6 separate regions of the Homo sapiens genome follow, and all the other regions are linked to region 5. Evidence: promoter capture Hi-C in 16 types of primary human blood cells and fetal thymus (Javierre and others, 2016). All regions are on one chromosome and are shown on one strand. Each heading gives the region's core, a stretch centred on a gene start or on the middle of the fragment in contact. The rest is flanking DNA. Distances are from core to core; before and after follow the strand shown. Region 1 overlaps GOT1-DT (GOT1 divergent transcript). Region 2 overlaps CNNM1 (cyclin and CBS domain divalent metal cation transport mediator 1). Region 3 has its middle 41 kb from the start of CNNM1. Region 4 overlaps HPSE2 (heparanase 2 (inactive)). Region 5 holds the start of HPS1 (HPS1 biogenesis of lysosomal organelles complex 3 subunit 1). Region 6 overlaps CNNM1 (cyclin and CBS domain divalent metal cation transport mediator 1).

What was found. The method cuts DNA at HindIII sites, captures the fragments that hold promoters and counts their contacts. A CHiCAGO score of 5 or more calls a contact.
Region 1: a contact is called between a fragment that was not itself captured here and the fragment with the promoter of HPS1 in region 5, in 1 of 17 cell types (total CD4 T cells). The highest score is 5.5, in total CD4 T cells.
Region 2: a fragment that was not itself captured here is called in contact with the fragment with the promoter of HPS1 in region 5 in 1 of 17 cell types (naive CD8 T cells); the score reaches 6.4 in naive CD8 T cells.
Region 3: a contact is called between a fragment that was not itself captured here and the fragment with the promoter of HPS1 in region 5, in 1 of 17 cell types (megakaryocytes). The highest score is 5.3, in megakaryocytes.
Region 4: a fragment that was not itself captured here is called in contact with the fragment with the promoter of HPS1 in region 5 in 1 of 17 cell types (total B cells); the score reaches 7.0 in total B cells.
Region 6: a fragment that was not itself captured here is called in contact with the fragment with the promoter of HPS1 in region 5 in 1 of 17 cell types (total CD4 T cells); the score reaches 5.1 in total CD4 T cells.

What each region holds. Positions count from the first base shown.
Region 1 is chr10:99,435,378-99,439,794 of GRCh38, forward strand. All of the region lies in intron 3 of GOT1-DT (GOT1 divergent transcript), which reads left to right. Among named protein-coding and RNA genes, the nearest start is that of GOT1-DT, 6.6 kb to the left of the region's middle. The HindIII fragment of the contact is 4,686 bases long and covers 567-4,417 here.
Region 2 is chr10:99,392,769-99,396,916 of GRCh38, forward strand. CNNM1 (cyclin and CBS domain divalent metal cation transport mediator 1) reads left to right here. Exons shown (of 11, transcript NM_020348.3): 11 at 1-1,562. GOT1 (glutamic-oxaloacetic transaminase 1) reads right to left here. Exons shown (of 9, transcript NM_002079.3): 9 at 4,102-4,148. Among named protein-coding and RNA genes, the nearest start is that of GOT1, 36 kb to the right of the region's middle. The HindIII fragment of the contact is 3,598 bases long and covers 695-4,148 here.
Region 3 is chr10:99,286,268-99,290,728 of GRCh38, forward strand. It overlaps a transcript of HPSE2 not described here. Among named protein-coding and RNA genes, the nearest start is that of CNNM1, 41 kb to the right of the region's middle. The HindIII fragment of the contact is 1,705 bases long and covers 446-2,150 here.
Region 4 is chr10:99,225,673-99,229,664 of GRCh38, forward strand. All of the region lies in intron 2 of HPSE2 (heparanase 2 (inactive)), which reads right to left. Among named protein-coding and RNA genes, the nearest start is that of HPSE2, 8.2 kb to the right of the region's middle. The HindIII fragment of the contact is 2,073 bases long and covers 1,487-3,559 here.
Region 5 is chr10:98,444,559-98,448,669 of GRCh38, forward strand. It overlaps HPS1 (HPS1 biogenesis of lysosomal organelles complex 3 subunit 1), which reads right to left and starts at 2,377. Exons shown (of 20, transcript NM_000195.5): 1 at 2,249-2,377; 2 at 742-846. It overlaps HPS1-AS1 (HPS1 antisense RNA 1), which reads left to right and starts at 1,763. Exons shown (of 3, transcript NR_134454.1): 1 at 1,763-2,199. RefSeq lists a silencer at 2,195-2,544. The HindIII fragment of the contact is 10,907 bases long and covers 1-4,111 here.
Region 6 is chr10:99,369,362-99,373,565 of GRCh38, forward strand. The region is part of intron 6 of CNNM1 (cyclin and CBS domain divalent metal cation transport mediator 1); the gene reads left to right. Among named protein-coding and RNA genes, the nearest start is that of CNNM1, 42 kb to the left of the region's middle. The HindIII fragment of the contact is 1,529 bases long and covers 962-2,490 here.

The sequences.
Region 1 (4,417 bases), core at 1,660-4,159, 990 kb after region 5:
TTTAACACAGTTATAGAAATTATTGTTTTTACTATTGTCATATGAGGAAATTCGTCCCTGGGTTGCTGTAGGGTGCTAATGGTTAGGCAAACTCTCTTTGAAGTCTGCCTGATCTGGCCCCTTGCAGGCATGTACTCCGAAATATTTTTCAAATGGAAAAGAAAACAGAGAACACAATTTTCAAAATATCTAGAGCCCTCCAAGAAGTCTTTGTAGAGATCTATAAAATCTCAAGGCAATTTAAAGGTAATAAGACAACTTTATTAATAATTAATTAAAATGTAAATGTTAATGATAGCCCTTTGTATAGCTATATTATCTTTTTCTGAAGAATAGAAAAATGTTTTAGAAACACTATTCTCTCCACATCCTGGGGCAGCAGCCTTCTCCAAAGAAACAGAAAGAAGGAAATGGATTGCCTTAGCAAAAAAACAAATGAAGACACTCCAAATAACAGAAGAATGGGAAGGCTACAGACCTTGAAGTCAGAAGAAAATTTCCTCTCCTTGCCCCGTTTCTCCTTAAATGGATCACCAGTACAGTCTCTTACTTCTAGAGCCATGTTAAGCTTTCTTCCCCAAAGTTGTAATGTCCTTCTTTTGGTTGTGTCGTGTCCTAAAATCCTACTCTTTGGTACAAGATGAAGGTATATGAAGAGATAATGAAGGAAACAAATTCAATGTGTTTGCCAAGAACACAGTCTTTTAAATAACTCTTAAAGGGTTCGTTTAAAACAGTGTAATAAATTGTGGTAATCTAGTACACAAAGCTAGTAGGAACCTCGTTTATTAATAATATTTCAACATTGAGCAGTAGAGGGCAGCACTATCCTTCTTTTGCAAAATGTTGAGCACTCTTGAGAAGGAAAATAAAGGCAAAGCTCCTGACCCCTGTGTCTGTGTTTACTTTTACCATTAAAAAAAAACAAAAAATTGGAGTATTTTTATTATGGTTTAGGTGATTATGTATAAAGAATGTCAGAGCCTGCATTACCTGGAAGTGGTGCACCAGGTAATGCAAAAAACACGGAAGGTTTGAGGTCCCCCACTCAGGATATGGGTTCTGTCTAGTAAAGATAAACAGTAGCTTGACCCTGGGTAATCAGATAGGGTTATTGTATGAACAGACCTAATGCTCCTGCACGTTCTGGATAGAAGTCAATCTACTGAAATAGCAGGATGTAGTTTTAAAAAATGTGTGTAACTCATATAGTCTTAGCCCTGATAAGTGCTTCTAAATTCTTATTCACTGCCTTTATTCTGCTGTGTTAGTGTTGCTCTCTGTCATACGTGGGTCAGGTCAGAACTAGCTCAAATACAGTATGTGTATTATGACTTTAAGGAGTGGTGTCAGACAAGATGGGTAAAGAATGTCTTTCATGGGACTGCAGTTGGCTAAATGGCTGTGTATAAGTAGTGAAATTGAAGCCTTGTATGCTCGTCGTCATTCTATCACAGTATGATTTGAGTTTCCCTAACCGGTAAACAGCAAGAAAAAATGATCTGTTATTTTTTACTAAAGTTACTTGATGCTCTTTAGCAAGCTGACAGAATAATTCTAATTTTAGCAAATACAAAACCATGGTAATCCTAGCACATTTGGATTCTGTTTAACCCTGAAAACTCTTTTGGCAGCAAATCTTCAATGCCAATTTAGATAAATCCCACTAGGAATAAGCACTGAAAGACGTTGAGTCTAGTTCCCAGCTCTGCCATGTGAAGTTGGGCAAATTACAGTCTCTGAGCTTTTATTTCATCTGTTAAATGGAGATAATACCTCCTAGATTTATTAAAAGGGTCAATTTAGAAAATATGTATTAAAATGGTTTGAAAGCCATTTAAGTACCTAATGAATATTTCTATCACTGTAGCCCAAAAAGATTCCTGCCTAGAAGACTTTATGTCTCTTCTCCTCATTTGGTATCATTCTATTGCCTGAGATTGTTAATTAACTTTTATGTATACTCAATATTTTCTCCCAACTTGGTTGCTAGTTCCTTGAGAACTGAAACCATCAATTGCACTTCTTGGTATCCTCCACAATAAGGTATCTAGGTACTCAAATATTTGTTGGTTGATTAAAAACATAAACCACAAGACATAATTAACTCTTTTTAAAATTGTGGTAAAAAAACATGTATTTACCATCTTAATCATTTTTAAGTATACTGTATATTAGTGTTTACTATATGCACATTGTTGTGCAACACATCTCTAGGACTTTTTCATCCAGAATTCTTTTTTTTTGAGACAGAGTCTTGCTGTGTCGCCCAAGCTGGAGTTCAGTGGCACCATCCTGGCTCACTGCAACTGCTGCCTCCCAGGTTCAAGTGATTCTCCTGCCTCAGCCTCCCGAGTAGCTGGGATTACATGTGCCTGCCACCACGCCTGGCAAGTTTTTGTATTTTTAGTAGAAATGGTGTTTTACCATGTTGGCCAAGACTGGCCTAGAACTCCAGACCTCAAGTGATCCACCCGCCTCAGCAGCCCAAAGTGGTGGGATTACAGGCATGAGCAACTGTGCCTGGCCTAGCCATTTTCTATAAACCTGAAAATAGATGCCAGAAAAGAAGGTGCCGCTATAAAATGCTTTCTTGAGTGATTTATGTCTAACATACAATTAAACATTTATGAGAAGGAAATTATCAGGTTAAAATATAAACTCACTTGCCAATTATTTGATTTTCAGGATATCTGACTTTTGTTAATTACTGAAAATAAAGTATTATTTCTAATCACTATTGGTATCACAATAGCATTTTTATTTGGCCGGTATGTGTGAGGCCTGGAGTATGACGGGAAACTGTCCTAGAAAAGGCCCTTGCATTGGCTGTAGAGAGTTCTGGAACTCTCAAGATGGCAAGATTGTATTTAACTCTTTTAAAAACAATGCACCTTTTCAAGCACAGATTTTCATCTGATGTTGTGACCGTCAATTATGTCAGATTTGTTTGATATATTAAAAAATTGGTTTCTCCTTTGCACAAAATAAATTATAGATGGATATAAGATTTAAATATTTTAAACAATATAGGGAAAATAATATATTTGAAACATAGTATTAGGGTAGAATAGACTTTCCTAATCATGGCACAATCTCAGAAGCTATAAAGAAAATAATTGACTTTGCATGGCTATAGACACCATAAATAAATATGTGATAACATGGAAGAATATTTGCAACATGCTTATTAGTCACATCTGTTATATAGTCAGAGCTTCATTGTATTGGTGGAAAAATTAGGATATAAAGAAATTCAGAAAAGAATAAATACAAATAACCAGTAAACATGTCCAAAATCATCCTCATTATAAAATTGAAACCACGCTGATTTATCAATGTTTACCCATTAGACTGACAAACATTTTAAATGTTCAAAAAATAGTGTTGAGGGAAAAGAGCAATGACATGCACTATTGGGGAGACTGTCAATGAATAAAGCCTTTTCTTGTATTTTGGTAATAACAGTCAAAATGCACATAATACCATTTGACCAAGCAATTTCTCCTCTAGGAATCTATCCTAAAGAAATTTATACAAGTTTTCAAAGATAGGTATGTAGGCATACAGTTATGCATTGTAGCTTTGCTTTAACAGAAAAAGAGTAAACACATGTATTATTTTTGTAGCCTAAAAAAAAATCAAGTTTTCATTGAAAATAAAAATGACAGGTTTGAAGCAGGACAGTGGCCATGGAAGTCGAATCCACTAAGGCGTGTGTAACAAGTCACCTGCTGAGTCAACAAAAATAAATAAAAATTTTTTAAAAACAGGCTTGAGAGACACTTCACAGGAATAGAAAATTTAGATAGTTTCTAACAATGACAATGAAGTAGGACAGGAAAAAGTAATTCTCCAAAGCAAAGTATGTATGTGTGTAGTAACTTAAAACTTCAGATACTATGAGAAACTATTTTTAAATAAAGAACAATGTGGTGTGCTACAGTTTAGAGTTGATCTGGAAATCTGGGGAGCTATTGATGCTCCTTAGTTAATAAATTAGTGATTTTTAAAAATATGAATCCCCATTATCCGTAGCAAACTAACGCAGGAACAGAAAACCAAATACTGCCAAATACTGCATGTTCTCATAAGTGGGGCTGAATGATGAAGAACACATGGATACATGAAGGGGAATAACACACACTGGGGCCTGTCAGGGGTGGGAGTAGGAGGAAGGAGGGCATCAGAAAGAACAGCTAATGGATGCTTGGCTGAATAGCTAGGTGACAGGATGATCTATGCAGCAAACCACCACGGCACACATTTACCTATGTAACAAACCTGCACATCCTGCACATGTACTCCTGAACTTGAGAATTGAAGAAAAAAAATGAATCCCACAATTCTGTATCCAAAGACCGAGAACAGCTCCTGACATCGAACAGACAATAAATATTGGCTGAAGGAATGAATG
Region 2 (4,148 bases), core at 1,244-3,743, 950 kb after region 5:
TCACTTGAAGTCAGGAGTTTGAGACCAGCCTGGCCAACATGGTGAAACCCCATCTCTCCTGGGCATGTAGTCCCAGCTACTCGGGAGGCTGAGGCAGGAGAATCGCTTGAACCTGGGAGGCAGAGGTTGCAGTGAGCTGAGATCACACCACTGCACTTCATCCTAGGCAACAGAGCGAGACTCTGTCTCCCCCCGCAAAAAAAAAAAAGAAAGAAAGAAAGAGAAAAGAAAAGAAAAGCAACCACAGCCAGCCTTAGGGAAAACTTGGAAGTAAGTGAAATTTGTCTTCAGAATAACTATCTCCCTTTCTGATCTGTCTCCTACTCTTTAGATGTTCTCAGTCAAGTACTCACTGAACTCATTGATCGAGTGCTGTCTGCTAAATCTCCAAACCATTCCCAAACCTTTCCCCGTAGTATACCATCCAGCTTCCCTCCCCTTCCTCCAAAACCCTCCCTCCCACCTCCCCACACCCATTGAGTCATTCACAGGCAGGAGGGAGACTGATCATTCCTCTGGGTTATCTGCATCTCAAAAGAAAATGCTTACCCACAGGAACTGTTAACTCAGGGGTTCTTAACTTGGGGTCCATCACCCCAGGGGGTCCATAGTTGGACTTCAGAGGGTCTATGAAACCCCTAAAACTGTCAGTATTTAATGTATTTATTCTTGTATGTTTTTTCCAGAGCATTAAAGCTTTCATAAGGTTCTCAAAGGTCTCAGACCTACAAAGAGTTAAAACAAACAGACAAACAAAAAAAAACACTACTATTTTAAATAGTGGAACTTTCAGCCCAGCGTTTCTGCAATGCAGAGTGAAGTGGATACTGGGCAGTTCGAGACAGGTTTTTAATCATAAGTGGTCTTTTCAAATGTCCATCAATTGATGGGGAAGGCTGGCACCCACCAAGAAGTGGAAGTCCTCAGAAATTCTCGGCACACCCTAGAGTATTGTACAACCAACACCCCCACATAACTTTGTCCCCTCTTCCCCAACAACCCAGAGCAGGTGTTGCAGACAGGAGGGCCACAGCGTGTGGAAGTAAAGACTTTGGAGCTAGAGAAGCCTTTTCCAGCAATGATTATTGACTTCACCACACCCCTTGCCTGGCCTGGCCTGAGGCTCAGCAGTGCATGACTTCTCGTAGATAACTTCACAGTCATCCAGTCCCAACACCTGCTCTTGCCTGGTAGGAACAGGCGAAGTGTCAGCCCTCAATGTTGGGTACTTAGACCCAAACCAATAAATGGTGAGTTTTGAACAAGAACTACCATCATGCAGGCTTCTTGCCCAGCTGACCACTGGCCCCGGGGTGCCTGCCTGGCTGGTCTTCATCACCTGAGGCCACCAGGCTCAAGCCACTGCTGTTGCATTACACCCATCCCTTTGCAAAATCCCTATGGAGCCTGTCACCACTCCCCTCCCTATATACCCCCACCCCACAAAGATTTTCTTCAGGTTAAAAAAAAAGTTTAAAAAAAAGATTTTAAAATAAAGCATTTATGAAGGCTTAATAAATTGTAAATAATTTTTAAATAAAATGAAAATGCCTTTCCTGGAATGTGGCTGTTTTCCTTGCCCCTGGAATCTTCTGACGTGGCTTCATTTGAGATGCAGGTTGAGTGATGCCCACGTGTGATGATCTCACCTGTGCACCACCTGCCTGAAGAGGCATGCCGCTCCGGGCCAGGTGTGAGGCTGCGGTGAGGTCACGGGGAAGCCTTGGCACACTACTTTGGGAGGCCAGATGGTAAGATTTTGCAGGAGTGAATGCCAGAAATGAGAAGTAAAACCCAAATGAGAAGCCAGTATGCATAAAGACGAGGAAGGAACTAAGACGACAGTGAGAAGGGCTGGCATTTGCTGAACCCATGTGATGGGTGAGGTGCTGTGCTGGGTGCCGTCCAAATTCAGGGTCTTGGGGGCTAAACCCAGACAAGCCCCTGAGACAGAATGTTGGTCACACTAGCTCGCTTCTGCAGAACCTTCAGAAAGGAGTCCAAGTGGCATGACTCTGGCAGTTTGCAACCAAAGGCTAGGGAACGGAACACAAGAATGGGCCAGGCCTGTTGGTCAGTTTTAAGCCGATGCTGGAGGGAGGGAACAGCCAGGCAGGTGGGAAGATGTGTTTGGGCATATAATACCTGTGTGGAAGGAAGGCTGAAATCTGACACCTACTACTCATTTCTCAAAGCAAACAGGAGGATCAGGGGCCTATGCCAAAACCTCTTAAGATTCTTCTCAGGAACCTCAGTAGAGGCTATTCATTTCACTAACGGTAATAATAAATAATGGAAACAACTATTTTGCCAAGGGCTTTATGTTCCAAGTATTCTGTTAAGTACCCATTAGCTCATTTCTTTCTCAACCACCCTGTGGAGGAGGGGTTACTGTCTGCAAGGTTACTGTCTTCTTGCTCACGGTTACACACCTGGGAACTGGCAGAGCCTGGAGGTTGGAGTGCCCTGCTCTTGAGTGAGCAAAATTGGTGAAACAATCCCACCTCTGAAGTTCACTGGCATGTCAGAGGCCTGAGGAGTCCTGCCGGCTTCCCAAACTCACAGCCCTTTTTCAGGTGAACGCAGTGGGAACCACACCAACCAACATATCTGTCGGAATAGAAGAAGGCCAGATTCCCATTGAGATGGGCTTTTTTCAAGGCTAAAAACATTTGAGCACTTTGGTACTGTCACTTAGATTTAAAGATGTGTTTATCTTTAATGGTTTTGGCAGCCCCCTAAAGAGAAAATTTTAATTTTCCCTAACAAGAGAAATTAAATACTAATAAGATGGTCAGGTAGGATTGCACTTTGGAAGGCAACATTTTAGTATTTCAGGCTTTTTTTTTTTTTGCCCCAGAGAGCCAATTTTCGTCCCCATGGAGGCAGTATCGTCCCCATGGAGAATGAGTGGTTGAAAGCGTTTGGAGAGAATGGCAGATTGACAGAAGGTAGAATCATTCGACTTCTCTGTTGGCTGCCTTCCCTTACTAACAACAAGCATCTTTACATTGGGAGGAGAACAAAGACTGATATGTTCAGAAAGCTGTGAAGAGATGGGTGGGAGGGCATCTAATCACATTCACTCATGAACTTCCACCAGCCCAACCACACACTGGCAGAGTGAGTGTCCTCTGAAGAACTCCTGGGGCTCCAGCCAGACAGGGAAGGATCTGGAAACCACATCCTGTGCAGAAACAAAAGTGGTGGGGGAGAGGCAGTTCATGTGGAAAAGTGTAAACAAGGAATGACAACTGCTACTTTCAAATATTTGAAAGGTGGTAGATTAGAAGTGCCAGTAGATTTACTATCTGTGGTTTAAAGGAAGGAAAGGAGGGGCAGGGGAGTGGAACAAAGATCAAATTCTGGTTCAAGGTAGATGAACTTTTACCGTGAGCAAAAGGTAAATGAGCCTCTTTTTTTTTAATTAAGAGGCCCCACCAGCAGAAGGGGATGCCTCACCAGGTATTTAAAGAATCCATCACCACTACCACCCCACCAGTTGAAATGGATGAGTCAGAGACAATATGGAGAGACTATTTCACTGGCGGAGAGGCAGGACTTGATGACTTCTGAGGCCCCAGTCATCCCTCAGGACTGCAGGATTTTCTAACAACCCAAATGAGTCCTAGAAAGTGGCAGATCCTATTAAAATCACAAGAATTAACTTTAAATACTTAAAAACTCCAATTAATAGACCTCTTGTGTTAAGTAACATCAAACCCCACCAAATTCTACAAAATGGCCATTTGGAGCGGCCCTTGGACTCTGGAAATTGTGATGTATGTTTTTGTGGTTCTGTTTCAATAAACCAGGAGGGACTCTGACAGCAGGGAACGGGCTGATGTTCTATAATCAACCTGAGTGATGTCATCTCCTCTCACAGTCCAAGAAGTCCAGTTTCTTAAGTAACATAAGACAGCTGGCCTCCAAATGACAAGCCCGCAAAATCACCAGGGAGTTATATGGTGAGTTCACTGAAGGAAGCTATACTGTAAGAACACATTGTAGTTTTTCCTTTAGCCACTAGTAAAACCCTCTAAAGCATTCATTTTAAACTGTGGGTCACAACCCATTAGTGGTCATAAAATCAACTCCATGTCTTGATCAACATTTTTATTTTATTTTTTTAGGTGAAGTAGAACACA
Region 3 (4,461 bases), core at 48-2,547, 840 kb after region 5:
GAATGCCCACAGCAGCATTATTCACAATAACCTAGAAGGTGAATATGATCCACGTTGTCTATCATCAGATGAATGGATAAATAAAATCTTATATATGTACACAATGGAATAGTCAGCCATAAAAATGAATGAACCTTGAAAACACACTAAGCAAAACAAGCCAGACATAAAAGGACAAATATTGTATGATTCCACTTATATGAAATATCTAGAATGAGCAAATTCATAGAGACAGAAAATAGATTAGTGGTCACCAGGGGCTGGGGAAAGTGGGCGATGAGGGTTAGTGCTTAATAGGTAAAGACTTTCAGTATGGGGTGATGAAAAAGTTTTGGAAATAATGGTGATGACTGTATGACATTGTGAATATAATGACATTGAATTATACACTTAAAAATTGTTAAAATGAAAATTTTCTGTTATGTATATTTCATCACAATAAAAAAGCTTTATAAATGAAAAAAATTAATGTGTTAAAAAACAAAATATTTAAGACTTATCCCATTACATTAATGTTGATACCAACCAGTATTCCTTGAGTACTGTTAAATGCTTGGAACTGTGCAAACTGCTTAATAGGATAGTCTCTCATTTAATTCTCACTGTAACACTGTAAGATAGATACTTTTATCATCCCATTTTTTGAATAAGAAGAATGATGCTTAGAGAGCTTGCAGTAAGCAGTGATGCATAGATTTGAACTTGAAATTCACCCTCTTAATCACTATCCTATACTTGGGGATCGCTAAATACCTCTCACAAACAACATAATAGCAGAGATTTGTTTCATTTATCTTTGTATCTCCAGCATCTAGTACAGAACCTTCCCTAGAGCAGAATTCATTAAATGTTTGTTGAATTATCTTAGAGCTAATCCTGCAAATATCAAACGTGTTGGTTCAGGTCCTCTGAAAAGCAAATGCCAAGAAGGAATCAGACATCCAAGAGATTTACTTAGGGAAATGCCCACGAAGGATCAAGGAGAGAAGCAGCAGGAATAAATGAGGAGAGCCTTCAAGTTATGATTAGGTATGACAATTGTGAAAGAAGAGAAGGAATGAGGACTGGGCAGGAAGAACCTCAAGCTAGAGCACAGCTCAGAGAAAGTCTTCACCAGGCCAACATGGAGTGTCCAAGCAAAGACTGCCATCAGAGGAGTCCCAGTTGAGCAGAAATGGCCCAACCTAGTAAACCAGCTGAGCTCAGTCATTGGCTGGGAGCAGCAGTGGGTGTGAGGGTGGCAGGGGTGTGTGGCTTGGAGTGAACATCACAGACAATGTGAAGAGAATATGGTCTGGTGTGAACATCTGGAGTCATCCAGCTATGTTTCTTGCAGCAGATCCTCTTAAATGGAGATCTGAGCAGTACACCTCCAGGATTATCACACCAACTTCAAACATTTACCTTAAGAAAATGGAAATTTTTCCCTAGGTGGTTCACTTTAAAACAAGGGAGTCTGAAAATCAATAGCATTCATATCTCAATGTAGAGATGTATATTTTGATGTCTCAAGCTCATTCAGCCATTACTTTGCCAAAGTTGCTTATCTTTAATAACTGGTAAATAAGAAAGCTAGTTACTGAGGAGTAAAAATAGTTTATACTAAAAATGGCTTCTGGTAGGGGATCCTAAACCCAAGTCAAAAAAGAAAGAAATGTTGTGGAACACTAGTCATTGGATTAAGACAGCATGAGGTTAGATTCTTCTAGAAGCTGTAGCTAAAGGGGTTAGGTCATGTCATATTTTGAATTTTACAGGTAGAACTGACGTAATAATTTGAGTTGAAAAAATGTAAGAATAGGGTTCACAGTAAGTTGAGAAATTTAACATGATGAGAGTGAGAGTGAAGGAAATAAGTTAAGACCCTAGGTAAGTCCTTTCTCAGGGCTTCAGTTTCCCCATTCCTAAAATCTAAGGGATAGGCTAGATTACATCGTGTTCTTTAAATTGTGTTCCAGGGAGCCCTGAGCAAGAAAATCTAGAACATGATGTTGAACTGGTAGGGTCACGGTGGATGGTTCTGTTAAGCTCTACCACGATAGCTTACACATAAGTTCCATGTGTGATTTTATGTTGTATATATTTATGTACATGATACAAAAGACTTCTGCCACTTTAATACAAAAGCAACTAGGTATCTTGAAGTTCTAAGCTTTTAGAATTTAATTATCCCAGAATAAAAAGAAGGTGTAAATTCTGAAAAAGAGTAAAAGGCAGAGAAGGAGGAGGAGAAGGATGGCTAAAATAAGACATATAACTGATGAAAAGTTTATCTCCTTTCCACCAAAATGAGGGAATGAAATGAGGAAAAATACATGGGATCCAGGAACCAGGGAATTCAACACAGGAGAAAAGCAAAGGGAACCCAAGGTAATGGTGAAGGGGGACACTGGGAACTATACAGCTGTACAGCAGCCTAGAGAACAATCAATCCAGATTGGAAAAAGACATGAAAGAGCTGCAAGAGGGACAGCCTCAAGCAAAAAAAAAAAAAAAAAAAAAGAATGAAAACTGGTAGATTATATGTTTGAGTGAATTGAGGAAACATAATGGAGAATCTGGGATGAAATAATGATAGATGCATTTAAAAATCAGCCAGGTAATTCTCAACCCTAAGGAAAATAAAATTTGTGTAAGAAAGAAATTTAATTATGGTATACTTATATAGTTTAGCTGTGAATATTTTCATAGTATTAGTAATCATTAAAATACCAGCTAAAAATCTAATATAATTAAATTGGGCCATGGTCACTGTCTTCTGTTTTACCAAGCCCCAAAAGATTTTTTCACATGGTAACATTCTGCGTCCCTGTAAGAAGTGACAAAAAATGGAGACTTGGGTCATAGGAGAGGCAATTTAAGAAGCATCAGGAGTGCCTAAAGATGGACTGAGAGGCAGCTGATGTTTGAAACCATCCACAGTGCAACAGATTGCAAAATTTCAGGTTGCGTAAATAAGGTAAAGTCTCTAAAAAATCTGTAGTACTTAAACTAAATCATAAATAGAAGATGAAACAATTTACGTGGCTGCAAAAAATATTATTTCTAATATTAGAACCCAAGAGTGTGTTAATGGAGACATCATCTGTTTTTTTTTTGGAACTTTCTTCTTCGTTTGGTTGTAGTAAATGTCCTATTCCTTTACTTTTCACATCCTACAATTACTGGTGGCAATTTTTAGCAATAAAAAATTGTTATCCATGATTTTTCTTTTTAGAATGCAGTTTATATTATTCTGATTGAGTCATCTTCTTGAAAGTTAATTAATTTTTTACTCAGTGCCAAGAGTATTTTAACATAGGGGGAATATCAGTGGAGTAAAAATATTATTTCATATAAAAGTTAAGGTTTTCCAATCACAGATGACTAGTTTTTTAAAGTAGTTATTTTCTTTTTCTTCAACTTATGGTGCCCTACTTGCAATGAAATGCCATTTTCTTTAAATTCTGACGTCTTGGCAAAGGGTTATTTTAACCGACACTCAAGTCAGAAGCTTATTTGTAATGTTCTTTCACTTCAGTTTACGGCAAATTAAATTATGGTTTCAGTTAAACAAAATTACATTAAAAACTGTACTGCTGAAATAAATAAATACCAGCTAACGAAAGGTTATATTATAACTAGAAGACAAGGGGAGCAGGAGGAGGACAGGGCAGTATAAATGAACTAAAACCTCATCTTTCACAGAAGGCACCCAATATCTAATATGCTAAAGAAGAAACTAAAAATGGTTGCTTCTGACAGAAGACTCAGAGGTAAGCAGGGGTTGGGCCAAGAACAGCTTCCCCTCCCCGCCCACTTATAGATCTATAAACCTATAGATTGTTTAAATTTTAAATTATGAAAATATATTTGATTAAAATTATTTTTTTTAACTTTACATCTTCATAAAATGATAAAGAGAGTAGGGGGCAGGGAAGAGAGTCGTCTTAAAGTTTTCTTTGCCTTTATTTGGGTTCAGGGCAGATATAATGGAGAAGTGAAAAAGCCAGAGTGAAAAAGCTTGGAGCTTCTAAAAGGCAGAACCCTGAGTATTTCATTCATCTCTGTGTCCCTAGTACCCAACACTATGCCTCATACCTTGTAAGAATTGTAAAAGGATTATTGAACAAGGTCTAAGTAAGGCTTCCTAATGATGTCAGTCATATCTTCCTACATTCCTTCCAGGAGGGCAAAGGGTGCCACTGAGCCCAACTGACAACAGAGCAACTCACTGTTAAGGGATCCATCTCTTTACTGGAGAGATGATCATGTGATTTACTAAGAAACAGCTATCAGTGGAGCGAAAAGCCTGAGGAAATTTTCCACCTCAGACCAGGTGGTTCTTATGTTTCTCTCTGATCACTGCTCCATTTATGGACTATTGGCCCATAGTGGGTTGGGGCACAGAGTTGTAAGGAATAAAACAGCTGGTTTCTAGTTATGAACCTCCCACAAATTAGCTGTGTGGAGAACAACAAT
Region 4 (3,992 bases), core at 1,273-3,772, 780 kb after region 5:
GAAGATGGGAGAGAGCAAGTGTCATGGAAGGCCCCTGTTGAAATGTGTCCTTCCCTTCTCCAATGAAGTAAAATAAAATAGCCTCTTTTTTCCTCTATGGCCAATTCCATTTTACTATGCCTAAATTTCAAGATTCCCATAATCTGATCTGGATTTACCCAACCAACATTTTCTCTCACACATGTACTTTCTTTTTCTTCTTCTTCTTCAATTACATATTTTGAAGTTAAGAAAAATAGATTAGAATGTATTAAAACTCAATTTAAACATAATTCTAGCAATATGAACTTTGCTTGGGATAATTTCTAATGTACTTTATTTTATACATTTTTCTTTAATTATAAACATTTCTATTTAACAAAAATGTGTAAATAGGCTTCTATAAAAGAGATTTTGACATGGTTTTACCACATGAAGATAATTCTAACATACTTTCTATGTAGCCAGGGTGGTCTCCTTCCTGCCCAAATATATACGAGGATTTGCCTCATGCTCTCTCTCTTGAGTTGCATATCCTCTCTTCTTGTCTCTCTCTCTCTAAGGTCTACCTACCTATCTAACTCCCACCTAAGTCTCACCAGCATTCAACTCTACTTTTCTTGTTATACCCTGGCAAACTATTATATTCCACTTAGCACTTCATTCTAAATTGTCTTTCTGTTATTCTTCAGTTTTGTCAGTGTTAATGTTGTCTCACCAACTACACTATTGGTTCATTGACAGCAGATGCAGTATCTTTTGAAGAATACAAGTCAGGTATCTTGTAGAGTATCCTTCAGTTTGGGTTTGACTAATGTTTTCTCATGTTTACTGAGAGTTACAGATTTGGGGAAAGAATATTACATGGTGAAGTGCCCTTCTCATTATATCATATCAGAGAATAATACATGATATCAATATGACTTATCTGCTGATGTTAACCTTAGTCATTGATAAAATGATATCTGTCAATTTCTTCAGTGAAAAGTTACTATTTTCCCCTTTGGAGACTCTCTTCTTTAAATCCAAGTCACACTCAAGGGAAGAAGAATTAAGCTCCACCTCCCAGAGGTGGAGAATTTGTGGACATATATTAAAACCACCACAATAATTAGTTAATAAATATTATGAGGGAGATGCTTTAAGGCTATGCAAATATCCTCTTTTAAAGTTCCACCCGCTAAGTCCAACACTTGATTAAGGTATCTCGCCTAAAGCAATTATTACTGTTGTGTTCTAATGGTGATTTGGGATAGCATCTTTTATTTATTTTATATTCTGCCATTCTTTGTCTAGCATGAAACTAAACAGAGAGTAGATAATCAGTACATACTTATTAAATGTAACAGAATTTCAAAACCATTATGTGAAATAAAATGAGATAATAGAAAGTGGATAAGTTCAAGGCAAATATGTATTTTGGCAGTTGTGCTGTTCTTACACCATAAGTCTTGATTGATAGAATGGGATTAAAAAGAAAAAGAATTAATTACTTCATCTGTGGAAAAGCTTCCTAGAGAAAAGAGAATAATAATAGTTATACAGTGTCTTAGAGTTTACAAAGTATACACACATTCATCATTTAGAATTCAGAAGCTCTCTGAAGAGAAAAATCTTCAGGAGATAAAGATAAAAGATATTTGAAAGTTGTGAAAAGGCACTGTTACACCAGGAATTGAAAAATCAGGAATAGAAATTACATTAGACTAACAAAGAAAAGCAAAAGTAAAGGCAAGGTAGAAACAGATACAATTTTTTAAAATGTAGTTCTAGTGCAAGGCTTTAAACTGGGTAATAAAGTTAATTTAACACATAGCATAAAATAAAGACAACTTAGACAACCACAGATAAAGAGCACATGGTTAAAATCATGAAGAATGCCATTAAAAAATAAGCATCAAGAATGGACTGCATGGGAATATGTGTTGAAAGTGTAAAATGAATGGAATCTTCATGTATACCTTCAGTCATTTCTCCACTGGTCACCTCCATTTTCCCAGGGCCTTTCACAGTGCTTTTAACCTAGCATACACCCAAGAAAATTTGCTGAAGATCTACCATGTGTCATAAAGGCTAGACATTGTGGATATACAATAATTAGATACGGTGTCTTCCTATAAAGAATTTGCATTCTAGATGGAAAGGTAAAATATATATATATATGTATATATATAAAGTTGAATGTCTATATATATATATAAAGTTGAATGTGTATATATGTGTGTGTGTGTGTGTGTGTGTGTATATACATATATATATATATACATAAAATTAAATGGCAAAACAAGGCAGAAGGAGCCAAAAGAAAAGCATAAAGAGTAAAAGCTACAGCAGTCTAAAGAAAGAAGAGATCACTGTGGAATGACCTGTTCAAGAACAGTTTTGTGCAAATAAGGAACATTTGCAATGGGCCTTCAAAAACTAGGTGAGATGGAATAAGCTCTGACTTAAGCCAAGAGAAATACATTCAATGCATATTCATATAGTAACTGAACAAAGGTACGGGGTTGAGATAATAAAGGTGCTTTAAGAAGACAGTGAACAATCAAGTAAGTTGGGCTGTAATAAAAGGTATATGGAAACACAGGGTAGTGAAAGTAAGCTGAGACTGAAATGTGAAAGGTTTTGAATGTCAGGTTGAGGAGTTTGAACATATTATGTAAGCAATCCAAAAATAACCATAGTTTTTTAGCAAAAGAGCAACATGATGAATATGACATTTTAGAAATATTAAGCTGGCTTTTGATGTACATTTAAAAAATGGTGTACATCTTCATTAAAGATGCAGTTATGGTCTTAAAAAAACATGCATACAAATAAATCACATTGAATACAATACAAAGAGGGGAAGACTGGAAAAAAATAAACTTAAGAACAGAAGAATAACCCAAGATTTCCTTGTTGAGAGCAGGTAAAGCATAACATTACATAGAACAAAAAGGAAGTTAGGCAACAGTAAGATTCCTTGGGTATAAAGAACAACTCTATTTTTACTTCTTCCATCATCACTATTTGTGTATATAATTCAAGGTGCCTAAGCATAGAGTAGAATAGTTAACTGCATTAAAGGAGTAACCAGTGAAGCTCCCAAAGTGATACATAAACAGTGGTTTTACAAAGTTAGAGAAAATACAGTTGCATTAATGTGCTCAGAAAGTATCTGGAAAACAGAAGACACATGAGTTGTTAATTGCATTATTAATTCATGGGAAAACAAGGGGAACAACAAAATCACATCGGGGCCAGGCACAGTGGCTCATGTCTGTAATCCCAGCACTTTGGGGAGGCTGAACTGGGCAGATCAGTTGAGGTCAGGAGTTCAAGACCAGCCTGGCCAACATGGTGAAATCCCATCTCTACTAAAAATACAAAAATTAGCGAGGCATGGTGACGCACACCTGTAATCCCAGCTACTGAAGAGGCTGAGGCACGAAAATCACTCTACCTGGGAGGTAGAGATTGCAGTAAATCAAGATAATGCCACTGCCCTCTAGCCTGGGCAAAAGAGGAGACTCCATATCGAAAAAAAAAAAAAAACTTATCAGGGTAGCAATATAAACGGATTAACCAGAAAAGTGGAAGCTTTTTGCTCAATGCTACAACTATCCATTCATTTTAACATTAGTACATAACAAAAGCCACCTTTGGTTCTCAACTCTGTTCCTTAAAGATAATTCTCCTTACATTCTCTCAATCCTCTCAGGTAATTCCATAAATCTACCTTCTGCCTTCTGTAAAAGCTTCAGTCTCATTAAATCTTACTCACTCCTTAATCCCACTTTAAAACATTAAATATATATTAGAAATTTGCTGAAGTTGCCTTTAATGAATGTAAGAATCCTTACCTTTCTTATAGTGTTGTGCAGTCAAAAAAATAACTTACAAACATTACCTCTTAGAACCTTCAGAGAAGCAAGGTACAGCAGGTAATCATCATCATCCACATGCTATAAACAGTAAGCCCTGGGCCACACATTCATAAGTCATAGGGCCAGGCATGCAGTGCAACCTTC
Region 5 (4,111 bases), core at 1,127-3,626:
ATTAGGAAGCTCTGCTGTAACTCTCACACAAGTGGATTTCCAGTTTTCTTGGGAGGATCACAGCATCTCCAGGTCTTGTGTTCCGTCATCCCCATGTCCAGCTTAGTGGTCCTTACTGAATTCCTCCCAAACTAACTTGGTGCAACTGGTCCCAAGGTATTTATGGCAAATGCCAGGAGACATAACAGCACAGTGAAGAAGGAATGCAGCCTATTCCCACAGAATTACTCAATGCCAAGGCAGACACTGAGAGTGCAACAGGTGTGAAAAGGAGGTTGCTGGGAGAGGCGGGTGGACCTGAAGAGGCTGCTCTGGGACTCCCAGGTACATGTGACAAAGCTGACCAGAGTGTATGGGTTAGGGAGCAGTGGGCTATGGAATGGAGGCTGTGGTTGTGAGCGGAGAAGTGACCGGCTGGCTGGAGATGGGCAGGTCAAGGTCATGAAGGCGGTCATCTAGGTGCGGGTGTCAGGTAATGAGTGCTCACCCCTTGGTGGGGGCTGGGAGGAGCTTTAAAGATGCAGCAGGCTGTGATGACCTGCCTGGATTCGAGGGGTGAAGGAGAGATGAGGCATCAGGATGGGGGTGGCCTCAGGATGCAGGGCTGGGGAGGGGATGAGCAGGTGTGCAGAGCCCAGTAGCACTCAGTCCACTGCCTACCTCATTCCATCTGCCTCCCAAAGCCCCAGGGTGGATGCTGCCTGCCTCCCTGTCCTCCCCAGGTGGGGCAAGATCATCTACCTTGGCAAGCACAGTGGAGCATCCAGACGGCCAGAGGTTCAGAAAGGGCTGCAGCAGACCGACTCGGTGACTGGCTCATGGGAGAGCAGCACAGCATCCCTGGTCCTGCAAATGCTTAAAACAGAGAGAATATGAGGGCAGGCAGATGCCCTGGTCTTGACTGCTGCCCGTTGAGAAAGGACAAGCTGGAGAAGGGCTGCGTGGTCCCTGGTCTCTCCAGGCCCTGAGGCAGTCTGCTAAGAACATATCTGGGATCCTGCCCCTCACCTCCCATAATGGAGAATAGGAACCCGGCCAGCACAGCCCTTTGCACAGAGCAGGTGCCCACTTTTGTTCCTTCCTCCTTTGTTCCCATGAAGTGCTCTCACTTCTGCGGGTCACTCAGAGCTCCCCAAGCAGCCCCAGGGAGCTTGCTAGGAGTGACTGACGGGAGACAGCATAGCACATCCCAGGTGGTGAGGATGCAGTCCCGGTGAAGGGAGTGGGGATCCTGGGATGATACGATGAATGGAAGGAAACTAACAGGAAAGGCATCTGGGACCAGGTTCTAGTTTTGGCTTTGCCAAGTCCCATAAACCTCTCTGAGCCTCAAACTCCTGCGGAGAAACAGAGCAACATCCCCTACTCTACCTCCCTACAGGGTTAGATCATGGGAGTGACCAGGCAAGCTGCAAAGTAACCTTAGCAAACTGCGTTCTTACATAGGTGTGGGGATCATTATTCCTATTTCCCAGCTTCCCTTCTTCAAATAACAGGATTAATCAATCTGGTTCCGGAATCATTCATATTTGAATAGAGGGCAGGAACAACAGAAAACTTAATTAGGAAGTCAAGCACTGTGAGCCAGTAAGAGGCAAGTGACTACCCGCCACAGAGACTGCTGTTACGAGTTCGGCCTTTAGCAGCCGAACCCTGAGACGGGCTCCATCACCCACATGATTGGCCCGAATGCCATATTCCCGAAACAGGGGGATGCTTCCCAAAGGCTGCTGGGAAGAGAACCTCGCCGGTGTCACACTGAGACTTCCGCTTCACCTCGCTATCTTGCCCTAGAAAGGGAACTCGGAGGGGACTCACTGACGAAAGGAGCTCCAGATGGCGGGGGGCCAACCTGGGGCGACCCCCAGCGCCCACTTTCACCATCTGGACCCCAGCAAACCTCCCTGTGGCCCTTGGTCCCGTCTTCAGCAGCTCCTTCTGGGGTCCCACACCTTCGGAGCCCGGCCCTGCCCCTGAGTCTCTGGAGAGAGCGAGTCAGCAGTTCGCCGCCGCGGGGCTCCCGTTTGCCTAGCACGCCAGTTTCTGTCCAGTTTCACCCCAAATCCCCACCTCCCCCCACCCCCGAACCTCACGGCCACCCTGGGAAGGAGGCTTGACTTGTGACATCCACCCCTCTTCACGGCTGAGGAACTTTGGCCCCGAGCGAGGAAGCGACCGGCCCACGGCCACACGCCCGGAGTGGGTGAGGCTAGGAGTGGGCCCGCTCCGGGACCCCTAGGGACCCTACCTCACTTCCGGGAGGGTTGAAGGGGGGCTCCGGAGGGAGGATCGCCGCCCCCAGAGGGGACAGCCCGGAGGCCCACGTACCGGATCGCGGCGCGCACAGCGCCCCGCCTGCAGGAGCCCGGGCGCGCTTCCGGGTAGGACCGCGTGATCGCGCACGTGACCGCCCGCCCCGGGAGGGGCCGGAGCCGCCGTCGCCTTCCGCGGGTTCGAGCCCCGCCCCTGCCAGGCCTTGCCCATGCCCCATTTTACAGAAGAGGAAACGGAGGCGCAGAGAGAAGAAATAACTTGCTGAGGGTCCGAACCAGGCTCAGAACCCAGGTTTCCTGGCTCCTCAGCTGATCCCTTCTCTCCTCCCCATGCCCCGGAACCTCAGGCTTTGCCTAATGAACTGAAGTTCTGGGGCTAGAGCTGTCCTTTTGTGACTGCTCTCCCTGACCTTTGGGGAGGTGACATAGCGCACAGAAGGGCTCAGTTGCCCCCAGAGTGCCAACGCTGGAATTTATAGGAGTTCTCAATCTATTTTGGGAGTGGAGTGCACATTAGGAGTTTTGTGTTGAACCTATGTTTGCAATATTTATTTTAAAAAATCGTATGTGTATTGGGGGTGCCTGGAAGTGGAGGGGGCGCTCTGGAAGGGCCTAAATCCCCGAACAGTCCACCCCTCAGTGCCTGGGTGCCACCTGGGAGCTTTGAGCCCAGCCCAGCAAGGTATGGGTTGCAAGAACTGGCTGGGGATATAGTAGATTGAGCATCTCTTGGGGGAAAGGCAGAGGCTAAGAATCAATACTTCCACCACCTGCAGATCAAAGAGAGCATCACTCCCCCCAACCCACTACCCACCCCTTCCAGCCCACCTTAGGGCAAATTCTTCCAACTCCCCATCTACAGCACATAGCCCTGCCACACGCATCTCTTTGCTCAGCCCACCGTTGAGATCGTTCACTCACTATGCTTTCAGTGGTCGAATGAATTCCATCAAATGGATATGCTGTTATTTACTTATTCATTCCCCTACTGGTAATTTCCATTTCCCAACTGCAATGTATGAGGATTCTGATTTCTCCACATCCTCACCAATGCTTGTTATTGTTGATTTTTTTTTTTTTAAGTATAGTAACCCAGCGTGGAGTGGTGTCTTGTGATTTTATTTGCACTTCCCTGACGTTCGGCATCTTTTCATGTGCTTTTTGCCTATTTGTGTACCTTCTCTGGAGAAATGTCTATTCAAATCCTTTATCCATTTTTAAATTGTCTTTATTATTGAGTTGTAAGAGTTCTTTATATGCTCTGGTTACAAGCCCCTTATCAGATACTTGATTTGCAAAAGTTTTTTTCCCATTATGTGGCTTGTCTTTTCACTTTCTTAGTGGTATCATTTGTAGCACCAAAGTTTTACATTTTTATGTAATCCAATATAATCTATTTTTTAGTTATGTACGGGTTTTTTGTGTCAACATGTTTCTTTTTTTCAAATTTGTTTGTGGTAAAATACATATAATGTAAAATTGATCATTAAGCATTTTAAGTGTATTGTTCAGTGGTATTAACTACATTCCTAATGCTATGCAGCCATCACCACCATCCATCTCCACAGCTCTTTTCATCTTTTAAAACTGAAACTATATCCATTAAGCAATAATGCTGGCCGGGTGTGGTGGCTCACACCTGTAATCCCAACACTTTGGGAGGTCAAGGCGGGCGGATCACAAAGTCAGGAGTTTGAGGTCACCCTAGCCAACATGGTGAAACCCTGTCTCTACTAAAAATACAAAATTAGCAGGGTGTGGTGGCACACAGCTGTAGTCCCAGTGACTCAGGAGGCTGAGTCAGGAGAATTGCTGGTACCAAGGAGGCAGAGGTTGCA
Region 6 (4,204 bases), core at 476-2,975, 920 kb after region 5:
TGTATTTGTTAAATTGCCCTGCAGTTAGAACACAGTCCAATTTCCTCTACCCTCTAAATCTGTATCCCTTATCACGTTGCTGGGGTAATGATACTAAGACCCCACCATATCCTCAGTCATCGAGAAATCGCTTATGTTTCTCTGTCTATATAGTAGACCCTCAACATTTAAAAAAGGTCATGTTTTGAGACTTCAAACCCTCCAATTTGCAACCTCAGAAGTATTTATGTTGACTTCTGTTTTTTCCCAAAATCACTTTTTTTCATCAAAAACCATCTGGTCCTCATGTTGATCTATACAAGATAAGTTAACCACCTTCTCAAATTTCACCAAAGTTTTCTCTCTCTCTCTCGATGGTGATTTTCCACTAAGAAATAGTTTTTCTTGCTTTGTGAGAGCTCATGCCTTCATAATGACTACAGGATCGGACAGTCAATGTGAAATGCCAATCTGGTGCCCTCACCAGCTAAATGGTCTACTCCTACATGCCCGCAAAATTAGAAATGACCACTTGATGGACCTTCAAGTTCCTTCACATGCAGTGAATCTTGGTGAATGCCAAGAGTGTGCTGTGAAGGTTCAGAGGAAAGGGGAGATGCACATTTTAAAAGACTTTCAGCCCAAAAGATCAAAGCGAGGATGTGTTTTCCTTTTTAATTAACCTTCAGTTAACCAGATGACCTAGTTAATTGTAACTTCCCAGTTAAAGGAAGGTTAATTCTAGTTCATCTGTATTGATTATTATAAAGTCCATGATAACCCAATGTCAGACAGAGATGAAAGTGATTCCCTCCTGCTGTGCAGAACCCCCAGGAAGTGCTGAGACTTCTGATCCAACTCTGGGTGGTGTCATGTGCCCCTGAGAGTATTTTCAACTTTCCCCCCTTTTCCATGACTGTGGATATTCAACACAACAGGAGATTAGTGTCAACACAATGGAAACCCTACCCATAAAGAGGTAAGCTTATTCCCACCCTTGGTTTAACTCTGCAGGGTGGAGCAATGGTGGGTACAGTGGGAGAAAACCAGAGGTAGGGAATGCCTAGTTTCTCCTTTGGCTTATTCCTCTCCACCTTGTGTCTGGTCTCTATCTAGAGCTAATCACTGTGCCTTCCCAGTGATCAGCTGACATCCACAGGACCTATTCTGTGGTATTTCCTCTGTCACTCTTGCTTTTGTTCCAAATCATTAAAAGAAGTAGCCTCAGAGGTCTGGGATTTTTGTAGAAAGAAGTTCCAGGTAACTTCTGGCCCTGTAAGCACAGACTTTGGAACCAAGGGCTCTTATTCAGTGCTCGATCGTCCATTCATAGTGTGCATTGAGATCAACAATGATGCCATTTTCTCCTAGAATATACCAAAGTACCTAAAAATTTTTTTTACTTTGCAAAATGTGCTAAGTGGAAATATTGATTTCTGATCCAGATACATTAATTTACATATATGCTAAATCTCAACCGTATCTTATATGGGAGGAAAATAAATCCTAGAGATTAGTAGGGTCTTGAAGTCTAAGAAAGAATTGTCATTGTCTGATTTGACTCCCCACAATCACTTTGGGAGATAGGCAGGAATAGTCATTGAAAAACAACAGATTAAAAAACAGGTTCTGAGAAAGTCAGTCAGTGTTGTATGTGTATTAGGTAGGCAGAGGGACAAGGACTGGAATCTAAGTCTTAGATCCTGCTCTCCACCTACTGCCTGGGACCTTGCTGTACCTCTGAATATAGACATTTTATGCCCCCTAGAGGGCTGTGATTTATTTGCATTTTGAAAGCAGTGCTAATTACGAATCTGGTGCTCGCACTAGATTGAGGCTAGGGGTCTCTGCACCAAATATTGCCATCATTATCCATAGGGAGTCTCTTTCTATTTGAGCCTTAGTTTGAAATAAGAACACAGTGGTTCACAGATTACCTCCAGGTTGTGGTGTGGTTAACCAACTTGGCAGGTGCTTTCATTTAAAAATGAAACTTCTGATCAGGGGTTTCCCCTGAAAGTACACAGCCCCACTGCAATTAGCATTCCCTTTCCCCATATTCACTCCTTCTTTCTTCTCCTGGTGGTGGAGATAATTTTGAATTCCCCATAACAGTCCTTTCAAATCCACAAAAGCACAGAGACAGAGACTTTGGAACCAACGGTTCTTTTTCAGTGCTCGGTTATCTATTCATAATGTGCACTGAGATCAATAATGACAGTTTTCTGCTTGAATATACAGGGAATCTCTAAAAATAATATTTCTACTTTGCAAAATGTGGTAAGTGGAAATATTCCTTCGGGTTGGCTCTTGTGTGATGAACATTTGGGAACCATTAAAGCTCCGTGTAAAGTGAATGAGTTCATCTGGGATCCTAACTTGGGCTTAGAGTTCACATCGTAGTTTTGACAGACAGCTGGCTTTGGTGTTCGGTTGTCTGATGCTAAATATTGCCCCAGTATAATGAATTTTAATAATTCTAGTTGGTACTCTTACAGGTCTATGTAATTAAGCTTCCTCATCCATTTTGGAGAACAGAGATGGCCCACGGCACAATCACAGTCAGACCAAAGTAGGCCATTCCCCCTCATCCCTCACTGATGGTACAAAAGATGTAGGCAGGCAACCCCTGAACCCTCCTTTTTCCTCAAATCCTCATAGGGAAAATGGGAGCTTAGCATTCTACTTCTGTATCTTGGGGTCTGATTCCAGGATAGGGTTGTGAAGGCTCCCTGGATACAGGTGTCACAAATGAAGCAAGAGTCCCAGAGCTGCTGTGTATAGATTTTCAGGGCCCCTGACTATTACTACAGAAGGAGAGGAGATTCCATCCAGCCCCGATTACAGTGTGAAGTCCTCTTCCATACCCTTTGCCACCCTGCCCCCAATTTTACCCTAGTGCCTTCCCCACCCAAACCTCAGCAATCCAAGTAGCCAACCCAGGACAGATATCTGTTAGAGACTGACCACTCAAAGGCTGCAGGAATGAGGTCTGCCACAATTTCACAGAGCAGAAAACCCTGCTCCCCATCACCCGGTTACACCTGAGCCAACCTGAGGGTCTGATGCAAGAGCAAGAGTGGGCAAGGGATGGGTTGGTTGCTTGGCCTGCTGCCTGCTGACAGGTCCCGGGTTGGTGTCACATATCATACTGTTTGATCTGTCTCCTTCCAGACCTCCTTGCATTATACTTAGGATTTTCCTCCTCGCTTCACTCCCCCAAGCTGTGCCTCTGTGCTCTTAGGATATGCCAAGGGGAATTACACAACTTGAACTAGTTTGCCATGCTGCTAAGACACTCGTCTGTTACTGATTTCTTCTGCTTTTTATTAAAAGCATTTCCATGTCCCTTGCTCAGAAACCTCTGAGTGTATATGCATAATTACCAAAATGCCAAGTCATCAGCATCCAACCTACTAAGGAATGTCAGACTCCAGGACACGAAAACATTGATCTTGCGCAATACTCAGAGGGGCCGGGACTTTCTCACGGAGTAAAGGTTCTTTTTTCTTTTAAAAATTGCTTTTATAGACTCGATCTTTGTAAGACAATTGTATCGTTTGGTGTTGGGAATCCTTTATGATTTTATAAATAAACTTTCAATAACATTGTTTTTACTTTAAAAAAAAAGACATGTTTTTCCTCCTCCCAGCACAATAGTGATGTAGCTTGTGTTTGACATGTGAGTCCTTGTGGGTGTCATCTACACTGGGTGCCAGTGAAATGATGAGAGCTTTGGAGGGAACTGGGATGTAGCTGTTGCCTCTGTTTTCAACAGGAGAAGCTTCCACGGATGGAAGGAGTTTAGTAGATAAAATAGGGCTATTTCCCTGTTGTCTTCCCTGAACATATCTTGAATTGTGACATAAGAGATGAGGATGTGGAACAACTGGTGTAGGGTGTGTGAAGCCCATGTCTGGCCAGGCAAAGTGGAGGATTATTGAGGAATGGTGGTGATTCTCTGGGCAGCTGAAGCCACAAGCCCTGCTCACACTCTCTTCCCTTGGTTATGTCCAAACTGAGTTGAGGTCAAAACCCACCAGATCAAGGTATGGTTTTCCAGATGCTGCACTGGGGCCAAAGAAGCTACTTTTGGGCAGGACTCTCTGCCCCGCTTTTCTGCAACAACTAGCCTGGAGGAAAGAACACAGACTTATCCAGCCACCACCCTAAAACAGCTACAAATGGGTCTGGCCAAGCCAGAACTCATCAATTTGCTTTCTCT